2 separate regions of the Homo sapiens genome follow, and region 1 is linked to region 2. Evidence: promoter capture Hi-C in human tissues and cell types (Jung and others, 2019). All regions are on one chromosome and are shown on one strand. Each heading gives the region's core, a stretch centred on a gene start or on the middle of the fragment in contact. The rest is flanking DNA. Distances are from core to core; before and after follow the strand shown.

What was found. The method cuts DNA at HindIII sites, captures the fragments that hold promoters and counts their contacts. A contact is called where the count stands out against the background at its distance.
Region 1: a contact is called between a fragment that was not itself captured here and the fragment with the promoter of LMAN2 in region 2, in 5 of the 25 tissues and cell types used here (IMR-90 fibroblasts, bladder, dorsolateral prefrontal cortex and 2 more).

The regions. Positions count from the first base shown.
Region 1 is chr5:177,261,050-177,268,437 of GRCh38, reverse strand. NSD1 (nuclear receptor binding SET domain protein 1) reads right to left here. Exons shown (of 23, transcript NM_022455.5): 15 at 720-876. It also overlaps the pseudogene RPL21P60 and the pseudogene PRMT1P1. Among named protein-coding and RNA genes, the nearest start is that of RAB24, 39 kb to the left of the region's middle. RefSeq lists enhancers at 1,497-2,388, 2,389-3,281. The HindIII fragment of the contact is 7,250 bases long and covers 1-5,487 here.
Region 2 is chr5:177,348,043-177,354,882 of GRCh38, reverse strand. It overlaps LMAN2 (lectin, mannose binding 2), which reads left to right and starts at 3,215. Exons shown (of 8, transcript NM_006816.3): 1 at 3,215-3,431; 2 at 3,592-3,710. The coding sequence starts at 3,236. RefSeq lists enhancers at 3,025-3,074, 3,085-3,274 and a silencer at 2,916-3,130. The HindIII fragment of the contact is 12,408 bases long and covers 1-6,547 here.

The sequences.
Region 1 (7,388 bases), core at 613-3,112, 85 kb after region 2:
GGTTTGTTACATATGTATACATGTGCCATGTTGGTGTGCTGCACCCATTAACTCGTCATTTAGCATTAGGTATATCTCCTAATGCTATCCCTCCCCCCACCCCCCACCCCACAACAGTTCCCGGTGTGTGATGTTCAATCAAAATATTTTAAAAAAGAAAAAGTGGCCGGGTGCAGTGGCATGTACCTGTAGTCTCAGCTACTCAGGAGGCTGAGGCGGCAGGATCCCTTAAGCCCAGGAGTTTGAAGTTGCAGTGAGCAATGATCACACCACTGCACTCCAGACTGGGTGACAGAGGATACCCTGTCTCAAAACAAACAACCCAAGACACATAACAGAGTATAATCTGTAAAAACAGTTATTTTGGATGGTGGGGGGCATAACTGCGTATTGGTACGTCTGGGAGTACATATGCCGAAATGTTAACAATGCGCCTGCCTTGTGAGATTATTACTGTCTTTTCATTTAAAAAAAAAAAAAAAAACTTTTCACAAAATACACAAAAGAAAAAAAAATTTCGACAGAGAACATGTATTATTCCTATAATTGTAAATCATAAAGTTAGGTTTCTCTTCCTATAAGGAAAAAAATCAAGAAGAAGAGGGGAGGAGTACCATGAGTAATTAAGTAGATCATTAGAAATACGTTAAGCATTGTATCTGAGAGGTCTCAAGAAACAGAGGATGGTAAAAGAGATGAGTGCTATTCTTCAGGCTTACCTGTATCGTCCAACTTTTACCCAGACAATCTCCCTGTAGTGTGGCTTTTTGCCTGCTTTACAGTCATTGCAATACCAGTTTCCTTCAGGGATATCAATGTTCAGGCATTCACGATGAAAAGCAGCAGGGCAAGAATCACAGCACAGAAGGCTGCCTCCTGTGGGAATAAAAAAATGTGGCATTCAGATCACAAGACTGCAAGTCATGTATGTGTACATCCATACACATATATATATATATTTTCTTTCTCTTCACTAAAAGATATACTAAATAAAAACATTATCAGTGACACATAATGACCAGAGTATAAACAGCATAAGCTTTATTTAACTCTCGTCAGGTTCAGGTTGGAATTCTAGCTCTAGGACCACAGGCCCTTGGGAAATTCACTTTCCTTGCTGAGCTATAATTTCCTCAGCGGTAAGGAGTTTTCTCTAATAAACAATAACCACATCTGTTTGAAGATTCACCTAGCTAATAAATTACCTAGTAGCGTCTGACACATAAGTAGTATCTCCATATGGTTAGTTCCTTCCCTCCTTTTAGAACTACTAACTTTTCGGCTGGGCACAGTGCCTCAGGCCTGTAATCCCAGCACTTTGGAAGGCTGCAGCAGGTGGATCACCTGAGGTCAGGAGTTAGAGAACAGCCCGGCCAACAGGGCGAAACCCCCTATCTACTAAAAAATTAGCCACGCGTGGTGGCACATGCCTGTATTCCCAGCTACTCGGGAGGCTAAGACAGGAGAATTGCTTGAACCTGGGAGGCGGAAGTTGCAGTGAGCCAAGACAGCACCACTGCACTCCAGCCAGGGTGACAGCAAGGCTCTTGCCTCAAATAAATAAATATATAAATGCTTTCAAAACACAGTAGTTTCAGCAGACGGGCAGGCATTTTATTTTGTTGCCAAAAAGAAATGAGCCACGCTCTTGCCAGAAATGAGCATGATTCAAACATGCTAGACTCAAACATGTAATTCCAAGTTTTACCCTGAAGTGGGGAGTAAAGCCTTAGCAAAGAATATATCCGAGTTAATCTTGTTCTCACTGTGCTTCTTTCACCTCTTAAAATCCTACTATAGAAAAAGGCGGGGGTCTTGGCGGCCGGAAGAGGAGTAGGTGCGGGTGAAGATGGCGGCCGCCGAGGTCGTGAACTGCATCATGGAGGTGTCCTGTGGCCAGGCGGAAAGCAGCGAGAAGCCGAACGTCGAGGGCATGACGTCCAAAGATTACTACTTTGACTCCTACGCCCACTTCGGCAACTCCATGTTTCACAACCGCCACCTCTTTAAAGACAAGGTGGTGCTGGATGTGGGCTCGGACACAAGCATCCTCTGCATGTTCGCCGCCAAGGCCGGGCCCGCAAGGTCATCGGCATCGAGTGTTCCAGTAGCTCTGATTATGCGGTGAAGATTGTCAAAGCCAACAAGTTAGACCACTTGGTGACCATCACCAAGGGGAAGGTGGAGGAGATAGAGCTCCCGGTGGAAAAGGTGAACATCATCATCAGCAAGTGGATGGGCTAACTGCCTCTTCTACGAGTCCATGCTCAACACTGTGCTCTATGCCCGGACAAGTGGCTGGCGCCCAATAGCCTCATCTTCCCAGAACGGGCCACACTGTATGTGACGGCCACCGAGGACCGGCAGTACAAAGACTACAAGATCCACTGGTGGGAGAACGTTTATGGCTTCGATATATCTTGCATCAAAGATGTGGCCATCAAGGAAACCCTAGTGGATGTGGTGGACCTCAAACAGCTGGTTACCAACGCCTGCCTCATAAAGGAGGTAGACATCTACACCGTCAAGGTGGAAGACCTGACCTTCACCTCCCCGTTCTGCCTGCAAGTGAAGCAGAATGACTACGTGCACACCCAGGTGGCCTACTTCAACATCGAGTTTACGCACTGCCACAAGAGGACCGGAGGGACCGGCTTCTCCACCATACCCGAGTCCCTGTACACGCACTGGAAGCAGACGGTGTTCTACATGGAGGACTACCTGACCTTGAAGACGGGCGAGGAGATCTTCGGCACCATCGGCATGCGGCCCAACGCCAAGAACTGGGACCGGGACTTCACCATCAACCTAGATTTCAGGGGCCATCTGTGCGACCTGTCCTGCTCCACAGACTACAGGATGTGCTGAGGCCCGGCTCTCCCGCCCTGCACGGGCCCAGGGGCTGAGCATTCCTAGACGGTTGTGGGGCTCCCCCTTCCTCTCTCTCTCCCTCCCTCCCCCAGAGGAGGTTTTAGGGGCCTGGGCTGGGGGGATGGGGAGGGCACATCATGACTGTTTTTCATAACTTATGTTTTTAGATGGCTGCATTTATGCCAATAAATCTTCAGCTGGGAAACAAAAAAAATTCTTACTATAAACATACTTCTGTTGGCACTTTATATATAATTTATTCCCATGCTGACTTTTGCTTTTTTTTTTTAACAGTCCAGAGGTCTTTTATTTTTTTTAACACCTATGATGCCATGAATTCATAGGGAATAGGTTCCAGCAGCTCAGACTCCTTCCCATTGGTTCTCACAAAGTATGCTTCTCTGAGTGGAGCAAGCTAGTGCTTCAGTTGAACCCAGGTTAACTTTCTCTTTGGCTTCTTTTTCTGATCATTTTCCTTCACATGTTTCAGGAAGCTATCTTGGCTCTTAGGAGTGCTTAATGTGCTCAATATGCACATGAAATCTCTTGGCAAGAATCTTGCCCTTGTTTGTTTACAACAATGCCAACAGCATGCTGGGTAACACTGTAGACTCTTCCAGTTTTGCCATGATAACACTTGTGGGGCATTCCTTTTTGAAGAGTACCCATTCCTTTGATGTCTACAATATCACCTTTCTTATAGATTCGCATATATGCGGCCAAAGGAACAACTCCATGTTTTCTAAAAGGCCTACAGAACATGTACTGGGTGCCTCTCCTCTTTCCCTTTGTGTTTGTCATTTTGGCGAATTACAGGAAGATGGCAGTTTCGGCCAAAAGGGCCTTTACTTAATAATTCTCTTCAACAAGCTCTTAAAATAAGAGTGGGAGTTTTATTTGTTTTTGTTGGGGCCAGGGGTGTGTTTCAGATCAGACTCCTACTTCAACTGGAAAAGCTCACTTTTGTCTGTATTGTATAGTGAAGCTCAGATTCAGAGTAAGATTACATTTGGAAATGTGTCTGCTGCTAAAAAACAAGTCTGAAGAACAATTATGTTGCAATATGTTATTTGTTTGACATACGTGAAGAAAGTATGGCCTCTCAGAGATATATTGCTGGAAAAGAGTGCTAAAATAACCTGTTCAGAACTGTGGATATTCATTCTTAGATACTATGCTAAAACTCCACAGTGTATAGTTGCAATGTGGAAACTGAAACTATGTCACTAAACTTAAAATGACTACACTAAAATTCATTGATCTGTCTTCTATTTTGAATGCATCTTTTACATATGCAAAGTTTTTAACATCATGCATTAGCTATATTAAAAATATTGCCTCATCTCTACTAAAAATACAAAAAATTAGCTGGGCATAGTGGCACATGCCTGTAGTCCCAGCTACTCAGGAGGCTAAGGCAGGAGGATCGCTTGAACCCGGGAGGTGGGGGTTGCAGTGAGCCAAGATAGCGCCACTGCACTCCAGCCTGACGACACAGCCAGACTCCATCTCAAAAAAAAAAAAAAAAAAAAAAAAAATTGGTTCATTGAGTCATATGCATCTTCTAAATGGCCTATTTCATTATACTTTTAAAATCACATTTATTAATACTACCATGATCCAATCAGTAAGTACTAAGAAATTGTCAAACTGAAGGTAGCAGACAATAGTTTACGAAAATTTTAATTTTCACTTAAAAGCTCAAATTTTATCATTCGCCATTATTTTGCAGTTCTTTTTCTTGAATTGATAGGCTCACAGTTGTTCATTTTCAAGTAAATGTCTGCCAAATATCCAAGCATGAATAACCATAGTTTATCAGTAACTCTTACAATTAAAAACGGTGTTCCATGAACAATGTGGATAGTTCAGCTTGAAACTCAGTTGCATGAGTGCTTTAACTCAAGATAACCATCAGTATGCAAAGAAACTGCTTTACGTGTACTTCCCACTTCATCACAGAGAATAGAAAAACAATGTTGACTTCATGGACAAGATATAATAAAACTAAGGTGTTTTACTTCAAGAAACTTCTAAGGTGAAACTGCCATGCTTTTACTGCGAGTAGGTGATGATACAGAACACGATGACTGCTTACTTGTATTGGTTTGGAGGTAGTGCCTTGGTTTATACTAAGGTGGCAGCAGTTTTACCAATCCATTGACTGTGTACTAGCTGTCAGATTTCAACTAAGTAAAAAAAGCTTCCAGAATTAACTAAACTCCAGTCTTTGGCTACAGAAACAATATATCTCAAGTAAGGAAAATTCTTCTTTTACAGAATTATTGGCATATACATACACCTGATAATACAAATCTCCTTAGTGATGTGAATTCAAAATATGTCAGACAAGTCTCAACCAATTTAGAAAGTTTATTTTGCCAAGGTGACGATCACGTCCATGACACAACCTCAGGAGATCCTGGCAACATGTGCCTAAGGTGGTGGGGGTACAGCTTGCTTTTATATATTTTAGGGAGATAAGAGACATCAGTATGTGTAACATTGTCATTGGTTCTGATAGGGGGTTGGGGTTCCAGGTCATAAGTAGGTAAAAGACAAAAGGTTGCATTCTTTTGAATCCTTCATCAGCCTTTCACTGAATACACAATTTAATCTGGCTCAGTGAAACTGCATTTTTACATAAATAGGGCAGAGGAAGCAATGAGGTACGCATTTGTCTCAGATGAGCATAGGGATGACTTTCTGTCCCACACCTGTGAAGATAAGCTATCGGTTTCCATTGCCAGGGTGAAATTCAACAGAACAGAGCAATTCTCCTGCCTCAGCTTCCCAAGTAGCTGGGATTACAGGTGTCTGCCATCACGCCTGGCTAAGTTTTGTATTTTTAGCAGAGATGGGGTTTCGCCATGTTGGCCAGGCTGGTCTCGAACTCCTGACCTCAGGTGATCCGCCTGCCTCAGCCTCCCAAAGTGCTGGGATTAGAGGCATGAGCCATGGCGCCCAGCCTTGTAGCTGTATTATTGAGGAATAAAATGGGAGGCAGGTTTGCCTGATGTAGTTCCAAGCTTGACTTTTCCCTTGGCTTAGTGATTTGGGCCTCCTGGGATTTATTTTCCTTTCACAGTGGTATCTATTTTTTTGGTTGTTTTTTGTTTTGTTTTGTTTATGAGGTCAGTCTCGCTATATTGCCCAGGCTGGTCTTGAATTCCTGGGCTCAAGCAATCCTCCCCACCTTGGCCACCTGAATAGCTGGGACTACAGGCATGCACCACCGTGTTCGGCTTCTTTAGTGATATCTTAAGAAAGAGGAAAGAAAAAGAAGGTATTGTTTTCTTGAAGGAAGTCATCTTGCAGGGAAAGTGGGTAATAACAAAGATAATTTTTAGAAGAAAATCAAACAAAATGAGGCAGGCTGCAGAAAAAGTCAGCCCTACAGAGGATTAAAAATGAGACCAGAGACCATTTAAACTTATTTTCTCACTGTGCAAGGGCTTTAATCATATCTTTTCATTTAATTGATGCTATTATAATATGACTGTGTGATAGGGAATAGAGCCTATATTTTATAAACAAGCAAACCAAGCCTTGGTAAAGCAATTTGCCTGAAGAGACAAGCCAGAATTCAAACTTGGACTTTGAGATTCAAAGTACAATGCTCATTCTATTACATATATTGACTCTTTTTAAAATTAGTCCCTCAGAATGTTCAGAGCCAGCCAGGTTTTCAGGAAACTGCATAATCAATAAGTAGATAATAAAAAAATTATTGCCAAGTAACTACTAAATCAACAAAATAAAATCTGAAAATAAATGAGAAAACTGAAGAACTGGTGCCACTCTCATCACTAGAAAATAGTGGAGCAAAGTCCACAATGAACTTAGAAAAATACCATTACAAAATACCAATACCATTACCATGAACTTAGAAAAGTATCATTTACCTTTGTACTAGATATCCTTCTAGTACAAAGGCAAATGATGCCTCAAAGCAGAGAAATGAGCACCTGTGGGATCACAAAAGTTCAGACAACCAAGAGAAAAACTGAAATAACGAATTCAGAACTTTAGGTACTACAATTAACATACTGGTGATGAGTGCTAAAATCTTCCATTTAACTAGCAAAAATCAAGTTGTCAGGGATGATAAGGATAGAAAAGAAAATACGTAAAAGGTTATACTAACTCTGCTCTAAAAAACAAGTATTTTAAAAATGAATAAAATGGCCGGGCACACTGGCTCACGTCTGTAATCCTAGCACTTTGGGAAGCTGAGGAGAGTAGATCAACTGAGGTCAGAAGTTAAGAGACCAGCCTGGCCAACATGGTGAAACCCCATCTCTACAAAAAAAAAAAAAAAAAAAAAAAATTAGTGGGGCATGATGTTGAACGCCTGTAATCCCAGCTACTCAGGAGGCTGAGGCAGTAGAATCGCTTGAACCGGTGGGGGAGGGATGGGGAGTGGCGTGGCAGCAGAGGTTGCAGTGAGCCGAGATTGTACCACTTCACTCCAGCCTGGGTGAAAGTGCTAAGAATAAAATATATAGAAAATTTAT
Region 2 (6,840 bases), core at 1,966-4,465:
CACAGGGCATCAGTTCCTGATTTAGTCTCTGGCTGGGACTTCAGATCCTTCTTCTCTGTGAAGACCTCCTTGGCTTAGGCCTCACCCTCTCTCCCCCGATCATGATGAATCCAGTCTCCCTATTATCCCCGCTCCAATCTCTTCTCCTCACCATAGCTAGAGGAATCCACATTGGTCACTCCCATGCTTAGAAATATCCCATTGAGTTCTGGGAAAAGGCCATGTTCCTTACTTGGGAATTGAAGGCCCTTTGAGTTTTGGCTTCAGCTCCCCCGCAGCCCCCAACTCCAACTTCTCAGCCATTCCAAACTACTTGTATTTCATCTGCTCTCACACATCCCTCCCTAGATTGCAGCTCCTCTTCTCTCTGCTGAGAATGCCTTTACCTTTCCCGGAAAACTCCTACTCATTCTTCATGACCCAATTCCAGGTTCTAGAACAAATATTCATTCTTTCACCAGTTACTTATTAATCACCTCCTATGTGACAAGCACTATTCTAGATGCCAGGGATTCAGTAGTGACCATAGCTGACAAAAATCCCAGCCCCATGAAGGTCCCATGGAATGTGCATGTTTTTGTTTGTATGGGTGCAGATAAATCTCTGGAAGGGGACACTCCTTGCGAGGGGAGTGGCAGAAGACTTTTGTTGTGTCTTTTCTTTTCTTTTCTTTTCTTTTTTTGAGATGGAGTTTCACTCTTGTTGCCCAGGCTGGAGTGCAATGGCACAATTTTGGCTCACTGCAACCTCCGCTTCCTGGGTTCGAGTGATTCTCCTGCCTCAGCCTCCTGAGTAGCTGGGATTATAGGTACCCGCCACCATGGCCGGCTAATTTTTTGTATTTTTAGTAGAAACAGGGTTTCACAATGTTGGCCAGGGTAGTCTCGAACTCCTGACCTCAAGTGATCCACCTGCCTTGGCCTCCCAAAGTGCTGGGATTACAGGTGTGAGCCACCATGCCTGGCTTGTTGTGTCTTGTATGTCTGTTCTCTCTCTGTTTCCATACACACCACAAGAATGTGTGACTTTTTTGAGACAGAGTCTCACTCTGTCACTCAGGCTGGAGTGCAGTGGCAAGATCTTGGCTCACTGCAACCTCCACCTCCCAGGTGCAAGTGATGCTCGTGCCTCAGCCTCCTGAGTAGCTGGGATTACAAGTGTGCACCACCACACCCAGCTAATTTTTTGTAGAGACAGGGTTTCGCTATGTTGGCCAGGCTGGTCTCGAACTCCTAGCCTCAAGTGATCCACCCACCTCGGCCTCCCAAACTACTGGGATTACAGGTGTGAGCCACCGTGCCTGACCAGAATGTGTGACTTTAATAATAAAAAAGCGAACGAAAAATATATGACCAAGAAAAGATTCAGCACTCAATCCTGAATAAGTCCATTCATTCAAGAGGGCAGTTTCTAAAAGGAGCAAGCAACCAACATCCCTCCCTGTGATCTACAACAGGAGTCATTGATTCAAATGTCTGGAGGAGCCAGGCAAGTGCTGTAAACGAGTGACCAGGTGGGGACCAGCTTAGAAGAGGAAGGCATTGGTGGAGGGGCAGTCCCATTCAGCTCCAGCCTATTGTTCTGTTGTGGGAATGTGTGCCTAGATCTTTTGCTGCTGCTTCTTTTTTTTTTTTTTTGGGTAAAAAAACGGAAGTCTGGATTTCTTTTCTTCTTCTTCTTCTTCTTTTTTTTTTTTTTTGTAGAGACAGAGTCTTGCTCTGTCGCCCCGGCTGGAATGCAATGGCGTGATCTCTGCTCACTGCAACCTCTGCCTCCTGGGTTCAAGCAATTCTCCTGCCTCAGCCTCCCGAGTAGCTGGGACTACAGGTGTCCGCCACCACGCCGTTAATTTCTTTTGTATTTTAGTAGAGACGGGGTTTCACCGTGTTGCCCAGGCTGGTCTGAAACTCCTGAGCTCAGGTAATCTGCTCGCCTCTGCCTCCCAAAGTGCTAGGATTACAGGCCTCAGCCACTGAGCTCAGCCGGAAGTCTGGATTTCTGATGTGAATGTACATATTCCGACTTTGTGTGTGTGTGTGTGTGTGTGTGTGTGTGTGTGTGTGTGTGTGACAGAGTCTCGCTCTGTCGCCCAGGCTGGAGTGCAGTGACGCGATTTCGGCTCACTGCAAGCTCTGCCTCCTGGGTTCAAGCCATTCTCCTGGCTCAGCCTCCCGAGTAGCTGGGACTACAGACACCTGCCACCACGCCCGGCTAATTTTTTGTATTTTTTAGTAGAGACGGGGTTTCACCGTGCTAGCCAGGATGGTCTCGATCTCCCGATCTCGTGATCCGCCGGCCTCAGCCTCCCAAAGTGCTGGGATTACAGGCGTGAGCCACCACGCCCAGCCTCTATATTCTGACTTTAAAATACTGGTAGTTAAGCCATTTATTAGAATATTGGCAGGTAAAACAGAGCTCTATTCAGCTGCAGGCCACCAGTTTTCGACCTCTGATTCACAGCTTTCCTGGGCCTTCCATGGACGTTACTTGCTGTACCAGGCACTGCGCTCTTTTGCATAGGGATGAGTTCCAGTCATCACTGGGGTCCCAGGCCAGGATCTGTGTCTGTTCCTCTTGCTTCAACCCGACTAGGCCTGAGGAGTTGAGGGTAGTGGAGGCCCTCAAATAATTGGGAATTCTGAGTCTCCAAAGGCGCGAAGCTGGGGCGCCTGACGGCAGGCACGGCTTAAAGGCTTGCCCAGGGCCACCCGGGGAGGACAAGGGTTGGAATGCAGGACTCCGCCTTCAATTCAGAGCTCCTTTCTCCAGGACTAGAAAAGGTTATTCCAGAGACGGGACTTGCGGCCAGAAGCCCAAGACGTCCTAGTCTTCGCGAATCCGCCCCATTAGAGCGACCGACAAAAACTACAAATTCCAGCATGCCCCGAGTCGCGGACGGCCCTCGCGCTCCCGCCGGCTCCAACCATCCCTCTGCTCCTCATTGGCTCGCAAGCCTAACGTGCTGTTCCGTGACTGGTTACAGCTCTTGTCGCTCGAAAGAACCCATTGCTGGGGCTGGCCGGCGTGTGCCTTGGAGCCTCTAAGGAGATGAAACTGCACTCAACCAGGATGAGAGGCTGCCCGGCCAATGCAGCTGCCGCCCCGTCTGCTGCGGAGGCTTTGCTTTTTGACTCCCTGGCGACAGTAAAGTTGAAGAGCTTCCGGCCGGAGGCCAATAGATGGGACCCCCGGAAGGCGGAAGTTCTAGGGCGGAAGTGGCCGAGAGGAGAGGAGAATGGCGGCGGAAGGCTGGATTTGGCGTTGGGGCTGGGGCCGGCGGTGCCTGGGAAGGCCTGGGCTTCTCGGCCCCGGCCCTGGCCCCACTACACCTCTCTTTCTTCTTTTGTTGTTGGGGTCTGTGACTGCGGATATAACTGACGGCAACAGTGAACATCTCAAGCGGGAGCATTCGCTCATTAAGCCCTACCAAGGTGAAGCCCTTGGGGCGGGAATGAGTGAAGAGTGAGGGCGAGGCTGAACAGGGCTAGGGGAAGGCGTGCCCTTTCTCCTGAGCAGAGCATCTCTGTGGGTTTCCTGCCTCTGGTGAGGCCAGTCCTGGCGTGGCCTCTTAGCACCTGTCTCTTCCCACAGGGGTCGGTTCCAGCTCTATGCCCCTCTGGGACTTCCAGGGCAGCACTATGCTCACGAGCCAGTACGTACGTCTGACCCCTGACGAGCGCAGCAAAGAGGGCTCTATCTGGAACCACCAGGTGAGTGGTTCTCAAGAGGATAGGCGTACTGTGCGGTTGGCTGCTAGTCCCTGCCTCCCGAGCAGCTGAGACCCCAGCTTCGTTTATAGGTTTGCACCTCCGTCCCTGGCCTTTTCCTCATCTCGGTCACACCCACCAATAATAAGAGGCGATGGGTATTGGGTACTTACTATGTGTCAGGAGCTGCGCTTGACACTTTACATCCTCCTCACTTTAAAAGCCATGCGAGATGAGTAATGTTATCTCCATTTTACCCACTGAGAAGCTAAGACTCAGGTTTGAAAGGGCCTTACCCAAAGTTACATAGCCAGAAAGTAGTGGAACTGTCAGGCTGTCTGCCTTGAACCCCCTCAGTAATGGGAAGAACCGAGCGAACTGGATCTTTATTGGGTGTTTTGCTGTGTATTAGGCACTGACCTTGCCATGCCTTATTGCATTTAATTTTCAAACAAGCTGTTTGAAATAGATGGCTTTCATGACTATACAAAGATAACCCAGCTAGCAAATGTCATAAACAGTATTTAAACTCTGATTTGTCTGATCTCTAAGCCCAGCAGTTCACTCGATGTACTTGACTCTTTTCACCTGGACAGTGGAGGAACCCCTTAGAACCCTTTTTGCAATGCTTGGTTGAGGGTCTTGTCATCAGTAGTGTGGAGGGACTGGACCTGTGGGCAGTTCTAGTGTCTGTGACCTTTGCCTCAGAGTATGTAGTATGTAGTATGTGAGCAGTGGCCAATGACAGCTGCTACACAGAATCCACACTGAGGCAGTCAAGGTGAGGAAAAAGGGGAAAGAAGAATAATTTGGGGCTGGGTTACAGCTTGGAGCGGGACCTGCTCCTGCCCCAGCTTGCCTAATCTCAGCCCTTCCCATGGCTTAAGCTGTTGGCCAGTGTTCTAGTTTTCTCCATCACCCTGCTCTCTGATCCCTGCTGGTTGACTTTCTTGTTTAGTTCTGGGAACCCACACTGTCCTTGTGTTGCCTGGTCTGCCCGTCCCCTCTGCTCCTCCTCTCCTTCCTGCCCCGAGCCTCCACACTGCTGTTAGTGGCATCTGCGGATACTTTCTTCAGCTTTCAGTCTGATCCTCAGAGCGTGGAGTCCCCTGTGAAGGGGTAAGCATGCATTATGTCTGCACAATCTGGCCCCTTGTGCATCTCCAGTCATTCTCTGTGTTAATTTTGTTCCAGCCCCCCCTGGCTGCCTTCTTGCCTCAGGACCTTTGCACCTGTTGTTCCCTCTGTCTGGGACACTGCCTCCTGGCTCCTCATGCCTGCTTGGTTCCTTCTCATCTGTTAAGTCTCAATTCAAGTGCCACCCACGCAGACATTTCTTCATTAACCACCCTATCTCCCCCGAGTCACATTCTGTCACATTCTGTCTTAGGGCTTTCAGATATTTTAAAGAAATGATAATTCAGCCTTATATTTTTCATGGAAATGAGTTCAGTATAGCATTATTATTATTTTTTGAAAGCAAGGTGCAAACAGTGCTGGAACTGTAGAAATCAGGAGTAGCCACAAGTAATAGACGCATCTAAGACAGTGGCTTACATTTTGGTTGTAGATAGCTGATGGTTGGCATCATCAGTGGCTCGAGGATGTCACAGGACTGAGAGGCTTCTGCACTTGCCTTCATCGAATTTTCAGTCTGGAGTACAATTGTTTTGCCTTCCTTCCTCCACCTTTCTATTTGGCTCTGCTGATATTCCTGAAACATTTGGAGTGCTTCCTGTAAACTCTGGAAAGAAATGGCTTGGAAATCAGAATTTTCTGTTCAGTGTTTCCCAAGAACTGCCTCTTCCTTTAATGAGCTGGAGAGATGCTTCCTAAACTTTTCCCTTTTTTATCTCCTTCATTCACTCCATCCGGGAGAGGCATGCACTCAGGCGAACATTCCCTGAACACCTGCTGTCTTCTGAGCAGCCATAAAATAGCTCCTGCTGTGGTGCAGGGGGGGTGGTCTAGATGAAGGAGTGGCTCAGAGTTGACTAGAACTCTTAAGTGCCTGGTGGCTGCAGCATAGGACCTGGGGAGGCTGCTCAGGCCCTGTCCTTTTGGGGGTCTTGTGCGGAGGCTGCGGCAGTGGTCTTTAAGCTTTCTTTGCTGTTGTAGCAACCTTTTGAAAAGTTGGCATCAAAAATTGTTTGTCATTAGGTTTAAGTATTTGCAAAGGATGACAGCATATTTTAAATATTGACATTTTAAACTAAAACTGTTCAGTATTTTAAACATTCAGTGGAATCTAAATATTGCAATTTGATATCCACTTTTTTTTTTTTTTTTTTTGAGACGGAGTCTTGTTCTGTCACCCAGGCTGGAGGGCAGTGGCGCAGTCTCGGCTCACTGCAACTTCCGCCTTCCTGGTTCAAGTGATTCTCCTGCCTCAGCCCCCTGAGTAGCTGGAATTACAGGTGTGCACCACCACGCCCAGCTAGTTTTTGTGTTTTTAGTAGAGGTTTTTTTTTTTTTTTTTTTTTTTTTTGAGACAGAGTCATGCTCTATCACCCAGGCTGGAATGCAGTGGTGCGATCTCAGCTCACTGCAACCTCCACCTCACGAGTTCAAGCGATTCTTCTGCCTCAGCCTCCCCAGTAGCTGGGATTACAGGCGCGCACTGCCATGTCCAGCTAATTTTTTGTATTTTTAGTAGAGATGAGGTTTTGCCATGTTTGCGAGGCTGGTCTCCGACTCCTGGCCTCAAGTGATCTGCCCACCTCGGCCTCCCAAAGTGCTAGGATTACAGGTGTGAGCCACTGTGCCTGGCCAGTATGTCAGTTTTTTAATTGAACTTGTACTTTCATTTCCACACAGAATATTATCCTAATGCAATATATTTAATGCTTGAAAATGTTATTCATTAGCCTACCATATTCTTCTGCAAGTAAAATTAATATAATAATTTAAACTTTTCAATTTTGTTGAGACTGAAACTTTTAATATTTTGTTTGAGATTATTATAATTATCTGTACACACTTGATAAAAGTAAATGCATTACACAGTTTTTGAGTAATTATACAAAAGTAAACATTTTTTGAAACATGAGATCTCAGTAGGATGTCACCCCCCACCCCCATCTGGATGGATAATACTGTCAGAATAAGACAAGTTCAGTACCACTTCTACTTT